4 separate regions of the Homo sapiens genome follow, and all the other regions are linked to region 3. The links are contacts of gene promoters, found by promoter capture Hi-C in blood cells and fetal thymus (Javierre and others, 2016). All regions are on one chromosome and are shown on one strand. Each heading gives the region's core, a stretch centred on a gene start or on the middle of the fragment in contact. The rest is flanking DNA. Distances are from core to core; before and after follow the strand shown.

Region 1 (4,200 bases), core at 1,263-3,762, 200 kb after region 3:
TGCCCGGGCACAGCCGCCCCCACAGGGCCTTGCCCCACCCGCCCTCCTCTCCCAGCACCATGGGAATGGGAGTTACCGGGCTGGAGGCTGGGGACGCCACCACCCCGTGGCCAAGGGCGTTGGGGCCCAACCCAGGAGCCTGGTGCAGCCCCACCCACGGGCCGCCCAGCCCTGGAAGGGCAGAGAACTGGCTGCCTCTGGGGTCACTTGGGACAGGTGAGCAGCCCAGCCCAGCCCAGCGGGTGGGGGAGGGGAGGCTGTCACCTGGGCCCTGCCTCCACCCTCTTTCTGGTTCTCACTCCCTCCATTTCTCTTTCTTTTGCCTTTCTCTATTTCTGTCCCGATCTCTGGCGCTCTCCCCAACCCAGTACCACCATCTCCGCCCCTCCGTCCCTCCCCTGCTTCCGCCCCCTCTCTGGGGGCCCCCTTCACCCCGGGGCACATTCCAGCTTCCTCCCCCGCCTTGCAGTCCCTCCCTGGAGCCAGCTGCCTCCTCGGTTGCCAGAGCAGAGAGAGTGGGCTTGGGCCGAGGTCGGAGGTCGAGGAGCGGGCGGGAGCCTGGGAGGGCACCCCCAACCCCTCTGGAATGTGGGTGGAGCGGGGCAAGGGAGACAGCTGGTTTCCACGGAGGGCACATGCCCCATACCCAGGACGCTACCCACACTCAGCCCTGGGGGAGAGCAAGCAAAACCAATGGGTGCCATCCCACGAGGGGCCTGCACAGCCATCCCACACCCCCGACCAGCACGCCCGGGACAGCCCTCCACAGGCCACGCATTTATGGGTGCGGCTGGTGTGCCAGGCTCCCAGATACACAACCCCCCCCCCCAGACACACCCCATATACCTGTCCCCAACCTCAATCCACTGTGTGACCCTAAAACAAACAGAACCTCCTTGCTCAGCCTGGGCCAAGGCCTCCCCAAACAAAACTCCAGCCTGCAGAGTCCCACCACACACCGCAGCTGTCACCAGATACAAAGAGGGCCCTGACCAGATACAGAGAGGGCAGCAGCCTTCCCCCACAACCAACACACGCCTGGGCGGGGGCAGGAACACCCCCAGGGCCTCCAGCCACAGACACTCACCCACTCACCCCTCTGTGCACCAGTGATCCTCCGCTGCCCAGCCAAGCTTGACTCCAGCCTGCTGGAGTCTGGGTGGGGGATGGAGAGGGGTTCCCAGGCGAGCCCCAACCTATGCCTTCCAAAAGTCTTTCTGTGCATGTTGGAAATACAAATGAAACAGGAGAGTTAGCATACGGGACAATTATTATTTTTGTTTGTTTTTGTTTTGAGACGGAGTCTCGCTCTGTCGCCCTGGCTGGAGTGCATTGGCGCGATCTCGGCTCACCGCAACCTCTGCCTCCCGGGTTCAAGTGATTCTCCTGCCTCAGCCTCTGGAGTAGCTGGGATTACAGGCGCCCGCCACCACGCCCGGCTAATTTTTGTATTTTTTTAGTAGAGACGGGCTTTCCCCATGTTGGCCAGGCAGGTCTCGAACTCCTGATCTCAAGTGATCTGCCTGTCTCGGCCTCCTAAAGTGCTGGGATTACAGGCGTGAGCTACAGCATCCAGCCCAATTTTATTTATTTTTAGTAGAGAAGGGATTTCACCATGTTGGTCAGGCTGGTCTCAAACTCCTGCCCTCAAATGATCCACCCGCATTGGCCTCCCAAATTGCTGGGATTACAGGTGTGAGCCACCACACCTGGCCCCAGTTATTAGTATTTTCGAGACGGGGTCTCACTCTCTTTCCAGGCTGGAACGCAGTGGCTCCATCACAGCTCACTGCAGCCTCGCTGGAACTCCTGGGCTCAAGCGATCCTCCTGCCTCAGCCTCCTGAGTAGCTGGGACTACAGGTGAGCACCACCATGCCCAGCTAATTTTGCTTTTTTTTTTTTTTTGTAGAGACAGGGTCTAGCTATGTTGCCCCGGCTGGTATCAAACTCCTGGACTCAAACGAAAGTGCTGGGATTCCAGGCATGAGCCAGCGCTCCCGGCCTGCATACGGGATGATTCCATGTGGACTGCCACATCAAGGAAGCAAACAACAAGGAAAGCCTGGCGCTGCGTGGAGCTGTCTTTTGCTGCTAACTGCCCTTGACCGACTTCCTACCAGGTCTTCCCTGTGCGCCTCTAACCCCAGGAGGTGCTGCTGGCATGCCCACCTCTCAGATGAAGCAGTGCGGTCCAGAGAGCGTCTTGGGCACCGCCTGCCTCACAGCTGGGCCCCTGACCCTCCAGGGACTGTGGCTGAGCAGCCATGGCTGCCTGGACGGGTGTCCCCTGGCCCGTCTGTCCGTCTGGATGTGGGAACCCTCCAGGCACGCTGGGGCGGGCAGGTGCCAGGTGCCTCTCCAGCAAGATGCAACATAGGTGTCTTCACTTGCACTCCGTAGGTCCTGAGCCCCTGCAGCTGCCTGGGAGAGTGGGGAAATACTCTCCACTTGTCCCACTCCACTGTTGCCATGGAGATACCTCCCACCCTAGGCAGGGCCACCCTGAGCCTGGTTGGCTTTGCAGGAAATCCCCACTCTTTGACCTCTCTGTTAGGCACAGGACGTGTAGTCCCATGAGAGGGAACTGGGCCCAGGTGGAGATCCATCCGCCTACCCCAGAGCGCGCATCTGTTGCTAAGCAACATCTGAGGCTGCATGGAGGTGGGGGCTCCGGAGCCCCCAGACCTTTTCCCAGTTTCAGAAACTAGGTGGCTGCATCCCCAGCGTCCACGCAGGCGAGCCTAAGCCTCGGTCAGCTTTAGGGTGTCCGTGGGCCATGCAGGGTCTTGGGCCTTTCACAGACACCTGATCTGCACGTCACAGACACGCATGGGTGCACGTCACTACACGTCCGCCACATGTGCTTGGCTGGTCTGCGCCCCAGCAGAAGGGGTCACCTATGTCTCTGCAGTATCCTGTGTACTGAAAGAGCAAACAGGTGTGTGACCCCAGGGCAGGTCGGGGTCCGTCCTGTCCCCAGCCTGTCTACTGCGTGTGCCTGTGGCAGGCAGGGTCTCCGGATGCCGAGTGCATGGTGTATGACTTTGTGTCCAGTGGGTACGAAGCAGGGGTGTGGGTGTGCACCTGTGTGTGGCCTGTGGCGGGGTGTGTGTGCCGGGGATGTCCCTCTGTGGCCCAGGCCTGGCCTTTGGGCTGCTGGGATGGCCTGGCCGGGGCAGGAGTAGACAGGGCCTCCCAGCCTCCACATTCCTGAGCTGTGACTCAGGCCTGTGGGGAGGGGGTGAGTCACAGGGAAGGGAAGCCGACCCACCCTGCGAACGCATCCGAGGAACAGGAGGGAAACTGAGGCTGGGGAGCAGCTCAGTCCGGCTTTCCTGTGTAGCAGCCCCTGAATCTCAGGCCCGGGGGTGGGGCGGGGTGGCGGGGGGGGGCGCGCGGGGCCTCCCAGGGGACCTGAGATCCCAGCCCTGGACTCAGCTGGGAGCTGGGGGAAGAGGCAGGTTTAACCCTTCCTCTTCTGGGCTTCTGGAACTCTGGGCTGCCCTGGGAGGCGCGGCTCCCGCTGACACAGCACGCGTGCCCACCCCAGGGACATGAGTCACAGCACCAGGCATGGACACATATGCTCTGTGGGTCCCGGCACACCCGAGTCACGCACACCCAGCCCTGTCCCCGGCTGCCCCCACATCCACATCCGGATAAGCGCACACTTTGGAGTCCAAGCGCCCACCTCCTTGGGTTGCACACACAGCGCCACGCAGACGGGTTCCTGTGTCTTTGCACACACGCGGGTGCCGGGGGCTCTGTGCACACACCTCCAAGACTGCGTGCACGCCCCTATATGCCCTGCGCACCGACGCAGGCCGGCCTGGGGTCCCTGCACTCACCACGCCGTGTGCACTCGCACATAGCTACACATTCGTGTCCACACAAGCTTGTGTCTCTGTACTCTGCCCACGGGCACACATGTGCGCCACACCTGGCAACCCGCACGCCCGGTCTCTGCATCCCCCACCCTGGCTCTGGGCCCCGCGTAGTGGGGCCAGCTGGGTCGGCTGCAGCCTCTGCCAGGACGGTCCTATTTCTGCGCCCCCGCGGGGCGGCCGCCAGGTGCACGGTCCCGGCCCCCGCCTGGCTAGGAGGAGGCGGTAATTATGCGGCCCCGGGGTCCCCCCCACGCGCCTTTCATCCTCGGCCACGCCCGTCGCAGGCCTAGACGCTCTCTACCGCCTCCCGCC
Region 2 (4,405 bases), core at 956-3,455, 160 kb after region 3:
AAAAAATAAAAGGTGGATTTGAGCTGTGGCTGTGAGGGGTGTTTGGGAGCTGCTGGGTGGCAGGGGGGCTGTGGGGTCGGGCTCACGTCGCGGCCGCCTTTGCGCTCTCGGGTCACCCTGCTTTGGCGGCCCGGCCGGAGGGCAGGACCCTCACCTCTCCCCCAAGGCCACTGCGCTCTTGGGACCCCAGAGAAAACCCGGAGCAAGCAGGAGTGTGCGGTCAATATTTATATCATCCAGAAAAGAAAAACACGAGAAACGCCATCGCGGGATGGTGCAGACGCGGCGGGGACTCGGAGGGTGCCGTGCGGGCGAGGCCGCCCAAATTTGGCAATAAATAAAGCTTGGGAAGCTTGGACCTGGCCGTCTGGGTTTTGTTCGCGTCTCAACGTGGATGGGGCGGCAGCGGGGCGGGCGCCGTTGACATGCGGAGGGCAGTGGGGACTCGGGGCGCGGGAGGGCCGGGGCCGGCTCCCTCAGGGCCGGCGGCAGCAGCGGTGGCGGCGCGGTTATTGCTCGGAGGCGGCGCGGGCTGCCGCCAGCACACGCCGCAGTGAGGTAAACGGTCTCGGAGGTCGGCAGTCACGGTGTTGAGCCGCCTCCCGGCCCAGGGCGGCGAACTCGTCTGCGACCGTTAGCGCCCCGCGGCCCCCGCCCGGGCGAGCTCGCGCACGCGCCCGGCACGCGGCGGCTCCATCGGGCCCAGTGGGCTGCGCGACCCTCGGGTGGCGGGCCCTGCGACTAAGCGGCCGCCCCGTCCGGGACTGAGGGCGAGTGATCGTTGTCCTCAGGAGCCCGAAGCTGAGAGCCGTTCACGCCCCTTCCTTCCCGCCCAGCCGGGGTCTCCGCGGCCCGCGCCTCACGACGCCCAGCACCCGGCAAGCACCGGAAAGAGCAGTGCACACTTCGGCGGCGCGAGGGCGGCCGGGGCTCTGCGCCTGCGCCCTGAAGCGGCGAGCGCGCCTCCGTCGCCCGGCGCGTGCGCGAAGGGCCCGCGGTCCCCGCGCATTCGCGTCGGGGCGTCGCGCCCCCACGTCTCTCCCGCCGCCGAGGCCCCGTGCGGCGCCGGAGAAGCTGCCAGAGAGATGGGCCCAGGACGCGGGACTTAGGCCGGGCTGTGGTCGGGGGACGTGGGGGCGGCGGCGACCAACGCGGGAGTCGCCACGACGGGCTCGGCGAGGCGCGGCGGAAAGAGTCTCTCGTCGAGGCCAGCCGCCAGCTTGTCCAGCACCGACCCGGATGGTAGGACGCACAGGCCCGAGCCGGGGCACCCCCCGCCGCCCGGCTCCTCCTCGATGACGGGGATGGCGGGGTCGTCGCCGGCGCCGCCCAGGGTGCGACCGTCGGGCGGGCCGTCCACGCTGTCGCCGCGCCGCAAGGGCGCACGCGCGGGTCGGGCCGCGCCGGCAGGCGGTGCCGGGGTTCCGGCCAGGGCCGGGGCCGCGCGGGCGCCGGGGTCGCTGTGCTGCCGGCCACGCTGCCACTGTTTGCGGGCGTGCGGGTGCGCGCGGGCGCGGTGTCGCGCGGCAGCCGGCGTGTCGTCGAAGTGCGGGTCGTGGCGCAGGAACTCGTGGAACAGCGCGTCCGTCTTCTCGTCGATGCTGTAGTCGCGGCGCGGGCGGCGGGGCCAGGCGCGCGGGCTGCGGGGCCGGGCGGGCGCGGCAGGTGGCTCGGTGTCGTCGCCTGCGCCGCGGCCCTCGATGCTGGCGTAGCCACTGTCCATCTGCAGCAGCCGGCGCGCCTCGCCGTCCTTGGGCCGCGGCGCGGGCGGGGAGGGCGGCGGGAAGGCGGGCGCCGCGCCCCCGGAGCCTGAGCCCGAGCTGTCGCCGCTGCGCACCGAGTCGCGGTCGTTGCCGCTGCTGCTGTGGTCCGAGGCGGCCGCATGCAGCTCAAGCGAGGCGCGCAGGCTCCACAGGTCGCGGTAGCTGGTCTGGGCCTGCTCGGGGCCCGCGTCCCGCTCGGCGTCCGGCTCCAGTGGCGGCTGCTGCTGCTCAGGCCCCGCGCTGCCCGCGCCGCGCTCCGGGGGGGAATCGGGGCTCGCTCCTCCCGCTGCCTCGGCCGCCTCTAGCCTGCAAGCCAGGCCGCGCCGTCAGAGCCCCGCCGAGCCCCGCGCCCCCTACCCGGCCGGCCATCCCGCCTCTGGATCAGGGAGGGTGGACGCGGGTGGGACTTGGGACTCGGGCGGGCCTTGGAAGGTGAGAGCTTTAAAATGAGCCAGTGTGTTTTGCAGGGGATGCGTCTTGCATTGACCCTGAGCTGTGGCGCCTGCTTATTAAGCAGGGTGCCTCCATGCTGGACTGCAGACGGCGGGGCCCCCTCCCTTGGAAGCCCCCAGGAAAAGTCAACATGCTTCTCTCCGGGAGTCACGTTTTCCCAGCCTCCCAGTGGACGTGGGAGCCGCAGGGGATGGACTGGACGCGGTTGAGTCCAGCTCAGCCCCTGCTCCAGGCTAGGGCTCTCTGCCCACCCATGCTGGATAACCAGCAGGAGGACAGTGCACAGACGTGAGGGTCACCCGCCATACCAGGGCTGCCCCAGGAACCCTGCTCTGCCCCAGCCCCACGCCCCATTCCCATCCCACCGACGTGGGCCCTGGGCTTCAGGGAAGTTGCCCTTGGGTTGGGGGAGGGGTGCTGCTGGCCGGAGTGGTCACAGCAGCTTCTGAGAGGAGTCTGCCCAGCCTTGGGAGCATGGGCGGGGCGGGGGTGGGAGAGGGCCTGGGACCACAGCAGAACCCTTCAGGCCTCGGACTCCACCAGCAAGCAGCAGTACCAGCGCCATCCTCGGGGGGCCCCTCCTCCCCACCCACCGCCCTACCCTTACCCAGTCTCTCCCTGCTTCCCTCCTCTGGTCCATGCTGGAGAGGTGGCCCCAGTGAGTCCGCCTCTGGGAGGGGCCTTGCCGCTGGAGGCAGGCGAGCGCGTGTCCACGGGGCCTGGAGAGCGCTCCCTGGGCCGCCTAGGGGGGGGCGAAGGGGGGCAAGGGCCCACAGGTCCACCCCTAGCACCTCCATCTACTGAAAAATACCTGCCGAGAGCAGGGGGCGGGCTGGCCAGAAAGGGGCGGGGGTGCGGGAAGGCCACGGCGTCGCCCGCCCGGGCAATGTACTGGATGAAGTCCTCCTGGGGGGCATCCCCCTCCTCCTGCTCCGTGCTCTCACTGGCTGCCCGCTGCCGCTGGAAGTGGTGCCGCTTGGGGGAACCTGCGCACGGGATGTGCCGTAAGCGTCAGCCGGCATGTGCCTCCACCCGCTCCACACACACACAGAATGCCTATGCCCCCCCGCCACACACACACAATGCCTGTGCCCCCCCGCCACACACAACGCCTGTGGACCCCCACCACACACACACAACGTGTGCCCCCCACACATACAACGCCTGGGCCCCCCCCACACACAGAACGCCTGTGGCCCCCATACACACACATAGAACGCCTGTGCCCCCCACCACAGAACGCCTGTGGCCCCCTCACACACACACGCCTGTGCCCCCCCCACAGAACGCCTGTGCACCCCCCATGCCTGTGCCCCCCCCACAGAATGCCTGTACCCTCCTACACACAGAACACCTGTGGCCCCCACACACACACAACGCGTGTGCCCTGTCTCTGTCTCACACACACAGGAGTGGGCCCTGGCTTGGGCCAGACCCTGGCTGGCATCTCCCCGGGTCAGGTGGGTGCGGACAGTGGCTGTGTGTACACCCTGGAGTACAGGTGAGAAAACTGAGGCACGGAGGGAAGAGGTGCTGGGACCAGAGAGCCTGAGCAGGGCAGGGCCAGGAAGCGAGTGAGTGGAAGGGCCTCTGGCACCGATAGTGCCTTGTGGCAGCCCTGGTCAACATGTGGCCACTCATAAGGGCGTGTCCTGGACACCTGGTGGCCTGCACAGCCTGGCTGAAACTACGGAAGGCATGAGAGAGTCACATACAGGCTGGTGGGGGCCAACGAGGAGAGGGAGAGAGGTGCCCTCTCCTGCCAGCTCCACCCTGGTCTGGAGAGCGCTGGGGGACTGCCCCACCCCTGCCTCGGCCCCCTTCTCCCAACAGCCTCCCCAGCAAAGCTTGAGTGGGCAGGCCCCAGCAAACAGGTTCTGGGATGTGCTGCAACCACATTGGACTCTAAATGTCTCTAGTCACCCCTGGGCCCCATTCATTTCAAGATCTGGATTCTCTCAGCTGGAGCGGGGCAGCCAGAGGAGGCCTTCCCCTCCCTGGCCCCTAGCTACCTTGGGGGTGGGGGCTGGGAGAACTCACCCCACCCCCGCTGGCTGGAGCCACAACACAGGGTCTCCCACTGTCTGATGATGTGTCCTCTGTCATGCTGACAGCACCTTCTCTCTGCACTTGTCCCCTATCCTGGCCTCACCTGACGACAGGACCTGCCACCCTGTCCACAAGGCAGA
Region 3 (3,918 bases), core at 1-2,500:
CCTGGGAAGCTTACAGGAGCCCGGTGTCCCGGAGCACAGGCCAGGGCCGGGCCAGAAGCCCATCCGACATCCAGCTGACCCTCACCCTCTGACCCCAGCCCTCAGCGCCATGAGTCGGGGGCAAAGAGTTCTCAAGGGTCTGCTGGGCTGGGTTTGCACTTGGACCTGGGCCTGGAGAGCCAGACTTGGAGCAAGGGGCTGTGGCCTTCATGTCCTGTGCCCCAGAGATCTGCCCCTCCCACCCGAGGTAGGTGGGAATGGGGTTTGGGAAAGGAAAGAGGTTGGGGTTTTGGGATTGGGGGTGGGGTTCTGGAAGGGGACAGCAGGGAGACTTGGGGAGGGGGGAGAGAGTTCACACTGCGGGGTGGGGGTTGGGGGAAGGTAGGAGGCTGGGATCTGTATGCCTGCAGATGCCCCAGCTCTTGGCCAATGCCGCCTCAGGCTGTTATCAGCAACGGGTGCCTGCGTCCTGCTGCCCAGCACGTCCGGTGGTCCAGAGTCACTGGAATGCAGCTTGGGAGGCGGGGCTGGGGACCTTAGCTAAGGGCAGGTCTGGGGCAACATGATATGGCCCACAGGGCTGCTGAGAGGTAACCAGGTGTCCTCAGCATATTCTGCCGATGGTGGGGTCCACACCACACTTTGGGGACCCCTGTGCAGGCAGCCCAGGACCAGGTGGACGTGGGGACCCAGACGGACGTGGGGACCCAGACGGACAGGGCCCGGTAACCTGGATTGTTCTGACTTCCTGGACGTCTTTGCCCCCAGGGTTTCGGTTCTGGGCCTCAGTTTCCCCACCTGTCCTCGACCTGACCCACTTCACGGGGCTGCAGGGCGGGTGATGGGGGGGACCCTACTCTGCCCGGCCCTGCTGGGGCCCGGCCACACCCTAGGGTCTGCAGGAGAGGCGGTGGAGCGGGCTTGCCTTCAGGGAAAAGGGGGCTGCAGGGGCGCAGCTTCGGCCTGTGCGTGTGTCTGGGGTCTGAGGGCGAGGCTCCAGGGGCTTGGTGGCGTCTGAGCGCGTGTGGAGGTCCGGGTCTCTGCGTGTCATCGTGCACGTGTCTGTGCACGCCCACTCGCGTCCGGGAGTGAGAGTCAGCGCCCTGCAGTCGGCCGCCCCGTGCCCGCCAGCGTCAGGCAGGGGCTCCCGGTCCCACCCCGCGAGCGGCGCGGCTCCGAGCTCCCGAAGGCGGAAGCGGGGGGCGCGGCCCGGGGCTGGGGGCGGGGCCTGCGACCTCACCTTCGCGCCCACTCCGCAGAGCCGCAGGCTGAGGCCGGGAAGGGTCGGGGGCGAGGCCGCGTCGCCGCCTCCCCGAAGCCTTTTCCTGTTGGGGGGAGGGCCCGCCAGTGACGGCCGGGCCTGTCACGTGGGCCTGACAGCTGGGGAGGGGGTGGCCGGCGACAATGTGGTCCCGAAGCGGCCAGCGCCGGGAGCTGCAGCGCTGAGACCCCCAGCCCGCCCCCTCGGGCTCCCGGCCGGGGCCCCATCATGTTCTCCAGGAAGAAACGAGAGCTCATGAAAACCCCTTCCATCTCGAAAAAGAACCGCGCGGGAAGCCCCAGCCCGCAGCCCTCGGGGGTGAGTGGAGCCCGGGTGAGACCCGGAGCTGACGCCGGGCCGCAGGGGGACAGGGACCCGCCCTGTGCTCGGGGCTCATGCTGGGGCGGCGGCTGGGGGCTCGTGCCAGCTACAGCCCCTACCGGGCGGGACGGCAGGGGCCACAGCAGAGAGGCCGGGACCCCGGCATTCAGCTCACGGTAGGGACCCTGGGAGTGGTGGCCGCCTCCCTCCACTCCATCCAGGGCTGGCCGCGGGGCCCAGGGAGCAGGAAGGGAGGGTGCCGGGTTGGGACGATGTTGTGTTTGGGCCGCTGCAGGTTGGGGGCTTAGGCAATCTGGGGGCTCTAGGGGCCGTTGAGATGGGAGGGCTGTGGCCTGGCCATTGGGCTGAAGGTTGACCGGGCAGCAGATCCTCTAATGGGATCCACCAGGTTCAGAGGTTGGGGAGTGTCCCCAGGCCTGGGGTGTCTACAAAGCTGGGGGGGGGGTCTACAGAGCTTGGGGGTCCGGGATGTCTACAAGGCCTGGGGCTGCCCATAGGCTCTGGGGTTCCATGGACCTTTAGGGGACAGACAGAGTCAGAAGTGTGTTCACTTAAAGCACCTGCGTTGTAGGAGCCTGAGGGGGGCTTGAAGGGCTGAGGACCCTCCCCACCCCCACCAGGAAGTGGGGACCCCCCTCCCGCGCCTCCCCGCAGGCCCCGCCCCGGCTGTGGTTTGGGCAAGGACCGTTGTTTGTGAAAGCTCTAGGGAAGAGGATGTTGGGTAACAGGTGGGGGGGTACACTACCAAATCTCGGCCCTGTGACCTCTGGCCTTTGACCCCTGTGGGGTCAGGGTGATGGTGGCCCTCCACAGCCCCACTTCATTTCTGGGGAAACTGAGGCCGTGTCCAGGCCGGAAAATCCCTTTAACGAGCTCCCCTCGGACCTGCCCAAGGAGCTGCCCAGGAAGGATGGGGCTGACGCGGTGTTCCCCGGACCAAGCCTGGAGCCGCCCGCTGGGTCCTCCGGCGTCAAGGCCACAGGGACCCTCAAGCGGCCCACCAGCCTGAGCCGCCACGCCAGCGCGGCTGGCTTCCCCCTGTCGGGTGCTGCCTCCTGGACACTGGGCCGGAGCCACCGGAGCCCACTGACAGCCGCCAGCCCGGGCGAGCTGCCCACCGAGGGTGCCGGCCCGGACGTCGTCGAGGACATCTCCCATCTGCTGGCGGACGTGGCCCGCTTCGCTGAGGGCCTTGAGAAACTTAAGGAGTGTGTGTTGCGTGACGGTGAGAGCCACGGGGACACCGAGGCCTGGGTGGAAGACAGAGCCAGACCCAAGGGAGGATGGAGGGAGGGACTTGGGGAGGCTCAGAAGGGAGGGAGGCTCAGATGGCAGGGAGGGCTGTGTGGAAGAGGCCATGACAGCTAAGGCTCTGAGGGATGTGTAGGAGTTTGGTGGGGGAGTCCCTGAGCGTACACTGGCTCAAGAGGGTGCCCACTTTATTTTTTTTAAAGGATCTGATGGCAATTAGGAGGGAAAGGCAGAGGAAATGTCCCATGCACAGGCTCAGAAACACGGAAACAGAGAATGCATTTGGGGGCCAAGGTGTGGGGTGCCGCTGGTGTAGGATGAAGGCATGACAACGCCAGGCAGAAGGGCAATGGGGAGCCATAGAAGGTGTTAGAGCACAGGACAGATGGGGGCAGATCTGTGTCTTGGAATGAAGCAAACTGGGGGTTGGCTGAGGTCTGGGTGGAGAGAGATTCAGGAGGCATGGCGAGGGGCAGGATGGGGTCATCAGGCGGCGGAGGTGCTGGGACCCAGCGGCCTGCAGGCCGGCAGTTCCGTTTTCTCCTCCACGCGGCCGCTGACAGCCCTGCTTCCTGCCGAGTTATTTTCATCTGCTTCCTGTTTGTCCCTGGCAGCCCAGGCGGGCACCTCATGTGCTGCCTTCAGCCCCCGGCTCCTCCCAGAAACCACAGTGCCAGGGTCATGCCAGGCGCTCTGATCTGCTCCCAGCAGCCGCCCATTTTACAGATGACGAAACTAAGTCTCTAGTGAGGCCCTGACCCCTGGCTCACCCAGCCAGGGCAGGGCAGAGCCAGGACTGGACCTCAAGTGGTGGAGTGGCCTCTGCACCTTCAGGGCACTAGTTGGGGAAGGCCCGGTCCCCACTGGGAGGAGTGGGAGCCCCCGGGTTATCTGGTCCCAGGGGCGGGGGCTAGGCTGCTTTCCTGGGGAAACCCTAATCTCGGTTCCTTTCCGATCCTGGCGCTTCCTTGGAGGCCTGGCCTGGGCGGGGCTCAGCTCCCAGGCTCCTGCAGGAGGTCTGAACTGGGCCAGCCAGGGTGGGGCACTTTTTTTTTTTTTTTTTT
Region 4 (4,011 bases), core at 1,347-3,846, 180 kb after region 3:
GCTCACTCCGGGGACCTCCCCTGCCCCCACCACCAGGGAGGGTGTGAACCTTGGAGCCAGGCCTCAGGACACCCGAGACACCTGACACTCGGAGGGAACAGCCCGTGCTGGCTGGATGCGTCCTGGAGCAGGAGGCAGTCAGGGTGGGGCCGGGAACCAGGCGGTCAAGGCCCTTCAGTGAGGGCAGCCCCTGGCTTAGTGAGGCAGAACAGAGCACAGGGTTTGTCCCCATCACACCCAGGAACAACCCACTCAACCATGGGGACGCCGAGTATGGGAAATGGTGGGGAAGCGTTTTAGCATGTTTATTCATTTAGACTGGCTCTGGGCATCTGGTCCCCAAAGGGCCACACAGTGGCCCCTGTGAAGCCCAGCAAGTTCCGACAACCCGTGTCCCATTCCACTCCCGACCAGACTGAGGTGATGGTGTCCATTCCACTCCCGACCAGACTGAGGTGACGGTGTCCATTCCACTCCCGACCAGACTGAGGTGACGGTGTCCATTCCACTCCCGACCAGACTGAGGTGACGGTGTGCAGGTGGCAGAGCCACACACGAGAGGCAAGAGGCAGGGAGGGAGGTGGGGGCTGCTGGCCACTCACAGGGGGCCCCAGTGTCCTGCTTGGGCTGCTCATTTGGCACCAGTCCACGGCTCCCTCCGCCACCTTTGTTCTCACTGGAAGCAGAATGAGCCTGGCCCTGTAGTTCCCACCTGGGGCCCCAGCCCTTCATCCAAGCCCCATTCATCGACCCTGCCCCTCCTCCCTCCAACTGGGTCCAGTTCACTAAGCTCCCAGAACTGCTCAAGCCATTCCCACTTCCTGGACCATCGTCTTTTTTTTTTTTTTTTTTTTTTTTTTTTGAGAGGAGTTTCGCTCTTATTGCCCAGGCTGGAGTGCAATGGCACAATCTCAGCTCACCACAATCTCCGTCTCCCGGGTTCGAGCAATGCTCCCGCCTCAGCCTCCCAAGTAGCTGAGATTACAGGCGCACATCACCACGCCTGGCTAATTTTTGTGTTTTTAGTACAGACAGGGTTTCACCATGTTGATCAGGCTGGTCTCGAACTCCTGACCTCGTGATCCGCCCGCCTCGGCCTCCCAAAGTGCCAGGATTACAGGCATGAGCCACCGCGCCCGGCCTTTTTTTTTTTTTTTTTTTTTTTTGAGACGGAATCTCGTTTTGTCGCTCAGGCTGGAGTGCCCTGGCACGATCTGGGTTTATTGTAACCTCCGCCTCCCGCGTTCAAGCGATTCTCCTGCCTCAGCCTCCTGAGTAGCTGGGACTACAGACACATGCCACCATGCCCAGCTAATTTTTGTATTTTTAGTAGAGACAGGGTTTCACCATGTTGGCCAGGCTGGTCTCAATCTCTTGACCTTGTGATCCGCCCGCCTCGGCCTCCCAAAGTGCTGGGATTACAGGCGTGAGCCACCGCGCCCGACCGCATCATCTTTTTTATGTGACAAACTCCTAGTCATTCCTCAAACCGCAGCCCCTGTGACCCCCTTCCAAGGGTTATCCCAGCCTCTCCCTCTCTGGCCTAGCCCTGACCCTTCGGGGCTGGGTGTGCCTGTCAAGGTGGGGGCCACGGCTGCCGGGAGCATGGGTGGCAGCCGGAAGGAGACCTGGGGAGGAGCGCAGCCCTGGGAGGGGCGCCCATGGCCAGGGTGGGGGTGGAGGTGGTCAGGCCAGATAAAGGGAGGGGCCAGATGAGTGGACAGGAGGTGCTCCCGTAGGAATGGGGTCCCCTTCTCTAAATAGAGGGGCAGGACGGGGCCCACCTCAACCAGGACCATCCTCAAAAAGCCGACGGGGAAGGGTGAGATGCACACCACATTCGTGTCTCATTGGCTGTGGCCTCAGTTTCTTCATCTGTAAAATGGGGTAATGCCCACCCCAAAGGCTGGGAACCAGTGCATGTCCTGCATTAATGGGGGGTGATGGCCCCAAAGTGATCCTGCCGCATCCCCTCACCACACTCCCACCCACCCTGGAGAAACTGAGGCTTGGAGAGGCCAGTTACCTCCCGGGGTCACAGCATAGCCGGCTGGTGACTGGCTGGGCACAAGGCAGGCCTGGCACTGGCTAATCGCTCCATAAATGCCCTCTGAGGTCACCATTGACAGATGCAGGAGGCCAGGGCTGGCCAGGGCACCCCCACTCTACGGCAGGTGACTCCAGCCTGTTTTCCTGGACGACAGCCGCTGACTCAGGCCCCTCTTCCCGTCCCCCCCACGCGGGCGCCCCCAGGCGGAAGCACCGGGCCTGGGGCGACAGGAAGGGGGCGGGGCAGCGAGTCGCGCTGTACACCCCAAAACCCTGTCCCGCTGACGATTCGGGGTGCATCTCAGCCCGCGGCGAGGCGGGCCGAGACCCTTGGCTCGGGGCATTCAAGGGGAGTCCCCCCATGAACTGCGCCAAGCCTGGGTCCCGGGTGGCCCAGCCGTCAAGGCGCCCCAGGGCCAGGGCCGGCAGGCAGGGGCGGGGGCCAGTCTGCGTCACCGCCCGCCCGGCCCCCCGCCCCCCTGCCCGCCCTAACTCCACCCCGAGGGAAGGCGGCGCGGATAAAGGCTGAGGGCCGCGCGCTTGGCCCAGACCGGCCCGGCCAGCGCGCATTCGGCCCCGGACGAAGGTACTCGCAGCACTTGGAGCGCAGAACCGGCCGCGCCCGGTGAGTGTGGAGGGGGGGGACCTGCGGGCCGAGGAAGGGTGCCCACTCTAGATGGCTCAGGATGCCCGCACTTTTCTTTGTTCTTGGGACAGGAGGGATCGGGGAGCCTCCGGTCCTGGGAAGCCCCCCGGGGTGCGGGGTGGGAGGGGCTCCGCGCAGCCAGCGCCGCCCTGGCCGGACCTCAGCCCCCGCCCCGCCCCCCGGGGCACTCCCCCTTCACCGCGGGTGACCTTGAACTGGTTGCCGTTCCGCCCTCCGTTGCCCAGCCACACGGTCCCAGTCTCCCGACTACAGTCTTTCGTTCCCGATCGGGGTTCCTCCCCCGCGCGCAGCCCAGTCGTCTTCCTCCCCTGCCAGGGGCAGCGCGGCGCCCCCTCCCCGGGACTCCGGGCGGCGCTCCCAGGCGGGCCCGGCAGAGGGCGCGCCCGAGCTGCTGACTCACCGCATCCCCGAGCGCGCGCGGGCGCAGCCGGGGACGCCGCGTCACGTCACGGCTCGAGCGGGCGCGCCTCGGGGAAACGGGTTCTGCCCGCGGCCGGCGGGTGGGCGCGCGGGGCCCCCGGCGGCAGCCACCCGGCCACGTCACCGAGGTGCGGGCGCCCCGCCCCGGCCACAACTCCGCCCCCACGCACCACGCCCTCCCCGGGGCCGCGGCCCTAGCCTCACCGTCGCCCGCCCGCCCCGGGACCCCGGCCACGAGGCGCGGACTTCGCGCTCCCGCTTCCGCTCGCGGCTTTTCCCGGACGAAGGCGGCGGGGTGGCCCCACGACTTCCTGCCCCTCCCGGCGCCGGGAACAATGGCCCGCGCCCCCTCCCGCTCCCGGCCGCTCCCTTGGGATCGCGAGGGGTACCAGACCCGTCTCCAGACCTGGGTCCCGCGCCCCCCGGGGCGCGCCCGCCCTTTGTTGCGGGCTCCGGGCGCTTATGAATGGCTGCGGGCGCGGGCGGGGCGGGGGCGGGCGCGGAGAGGCGCCAGCCCCGCCCCCGCTGCGCTCCCCTTGGTCGCCTGGGCGCTGGGGGCGGGGCGAGGGGGCGGGCCCGGCTGCCACGTGGGGCGGTGCCGCGGCGGCTCTCATAGGCCCGGGCTCGCGGCCGACTGGGCGCTCGGCGCGCGGCGATTGGCCGGCGCCCGGCCGGCGGAGTAAGTAGTGAATGGGAGGGGGCGGCGGCCCCGCCCCCTGGAACGTTGATACATTATAACTTTTTTTTCTTGTTACTTTCACCCCCAGATCCTCCGAGCGGCGGCGACGGCTGTTGCTAAGGGAGGGGACGCGCGAGGAAGCGCGACCCGGGCGGCAGACGGCACCCAGCGCCACCAGCCGAGCGGCGCCCCCTCC

Evidence for each region. Contacts are between HindIII fragments. The CHiCAGO score rates a contact against its expected background, and 5 or more counts as called.
Region 1: a contact is called between a fragment that was not itself captured here and the fragment with the promoter of ARHGAP45 in region 3, in 16 of 17 cell types (naive CD4 T cells, non-activated CD4 T cells, total CD8 T cells and 13 more). The highest score is 21.3, in naive CD4 T cells.
Region 2: a contact is called between a fragment that was not itself captured here and the fragment with the promoter of ARHGAP45 in region 3, in 7 of 17 cell types (monocytes, neutrophils, endothelial precursors and 4 more). The highest score is 10.2, in monocytes.
Region 4: the fragment with the promoter of MIDN here is called in contact with the fragment with the promoter of ARHGAP45 in region 3 in 11 of 17 cell types (monocytes, neutrophils, non-activated CD4 T cells and 8 more); the score reaches 9.6 in monocytes.

The regions. Positions count from the first base shown.
Region 1 is chr19:1,262,343-1,266,542 of GRCh38, forward strand. LOC105372236 (a long non-coding RNA gene) reads right to left here and starts at 4,199. Exons shown (of 3, transcript XR_936233.3): 1 at 2,171-4,199; 2 at 1,088-1,217. It also overlaps LOC107985303. RefSeq lists enhancers at 1,069-1,158, 1,199-1,248 and a silencer at 3,977-4,200. The HindIII fragment of the contact is 2,763 bases long and covers 1,132-3,894 here.
Region 2 is chr19:1,228,074-1,232,478 of GRCh38, forward strand. CBARP (CACN subunit beta associated regulatory protein) reads right to left here. Exons shown (of 10, transcript NM_001393918.1): 9 at 3,028-3,202; 10 at 214-2,069. The coding sequence ends at 1,106. It overlaps STK11 (serine/threonine kinase 11), which reads left to right. Exons shown (of 10, transcript NM_000455.5): 10 at 1-358. Among named protein-coding and RNA genes, the nearest start is that of CBARP-DT, 7.7 kb to the right of the region's middle. The HindIII fragment of the contact is 3,711 bases long and covers 351-4,061 here.
Region 3 is chr19:1,065,917-1,069,834 of GRCh38, forward strand. ARHGAP45 (Rho GTPase activating protein 45) reads left to right here and starts at 1,251. Exons shown (of 23, transcript NM_012292.5): 1 at 1,251-1,579; 2 at 2,498-2,828. The coding sequence starts at 1,490. RefSeq lists enhancers at 694-1,200, 3,391-3,550 and silencers at 1,061-1,820, 2,131-2,370, 2,901-3,000. The HindIII fragment of the contact is 10,211 bases long and covers 8-3,918 here.
Region 4 is chr19:1,245,987-1,249,997 of GRCh38, forward strand. It overlaps MIDN (midnolin), which reads left to right and starts at 2,597. Exons shown (of 9, transcript NM_001388306.1): 1 at 2,597-2,674; 2 at 3,904-4,011. LOC102723811 (a long non-coding RNA gene) reads right to left here and starts at 2,086. Exons shown (of 2, transcript XR_007067082.1): 1 at 2,027-2,086; 2 at 282-1,875. RefSeq lists enhancers at 1-738, 2,674-3,207 and silencers at 2,051-2,590, 2,681-3,140, 3,201-3,320, 3,351-3,820, 4,001-4,011. The HindIII fragment of the contact is 31,339 bases long and covers 1-4,011 here.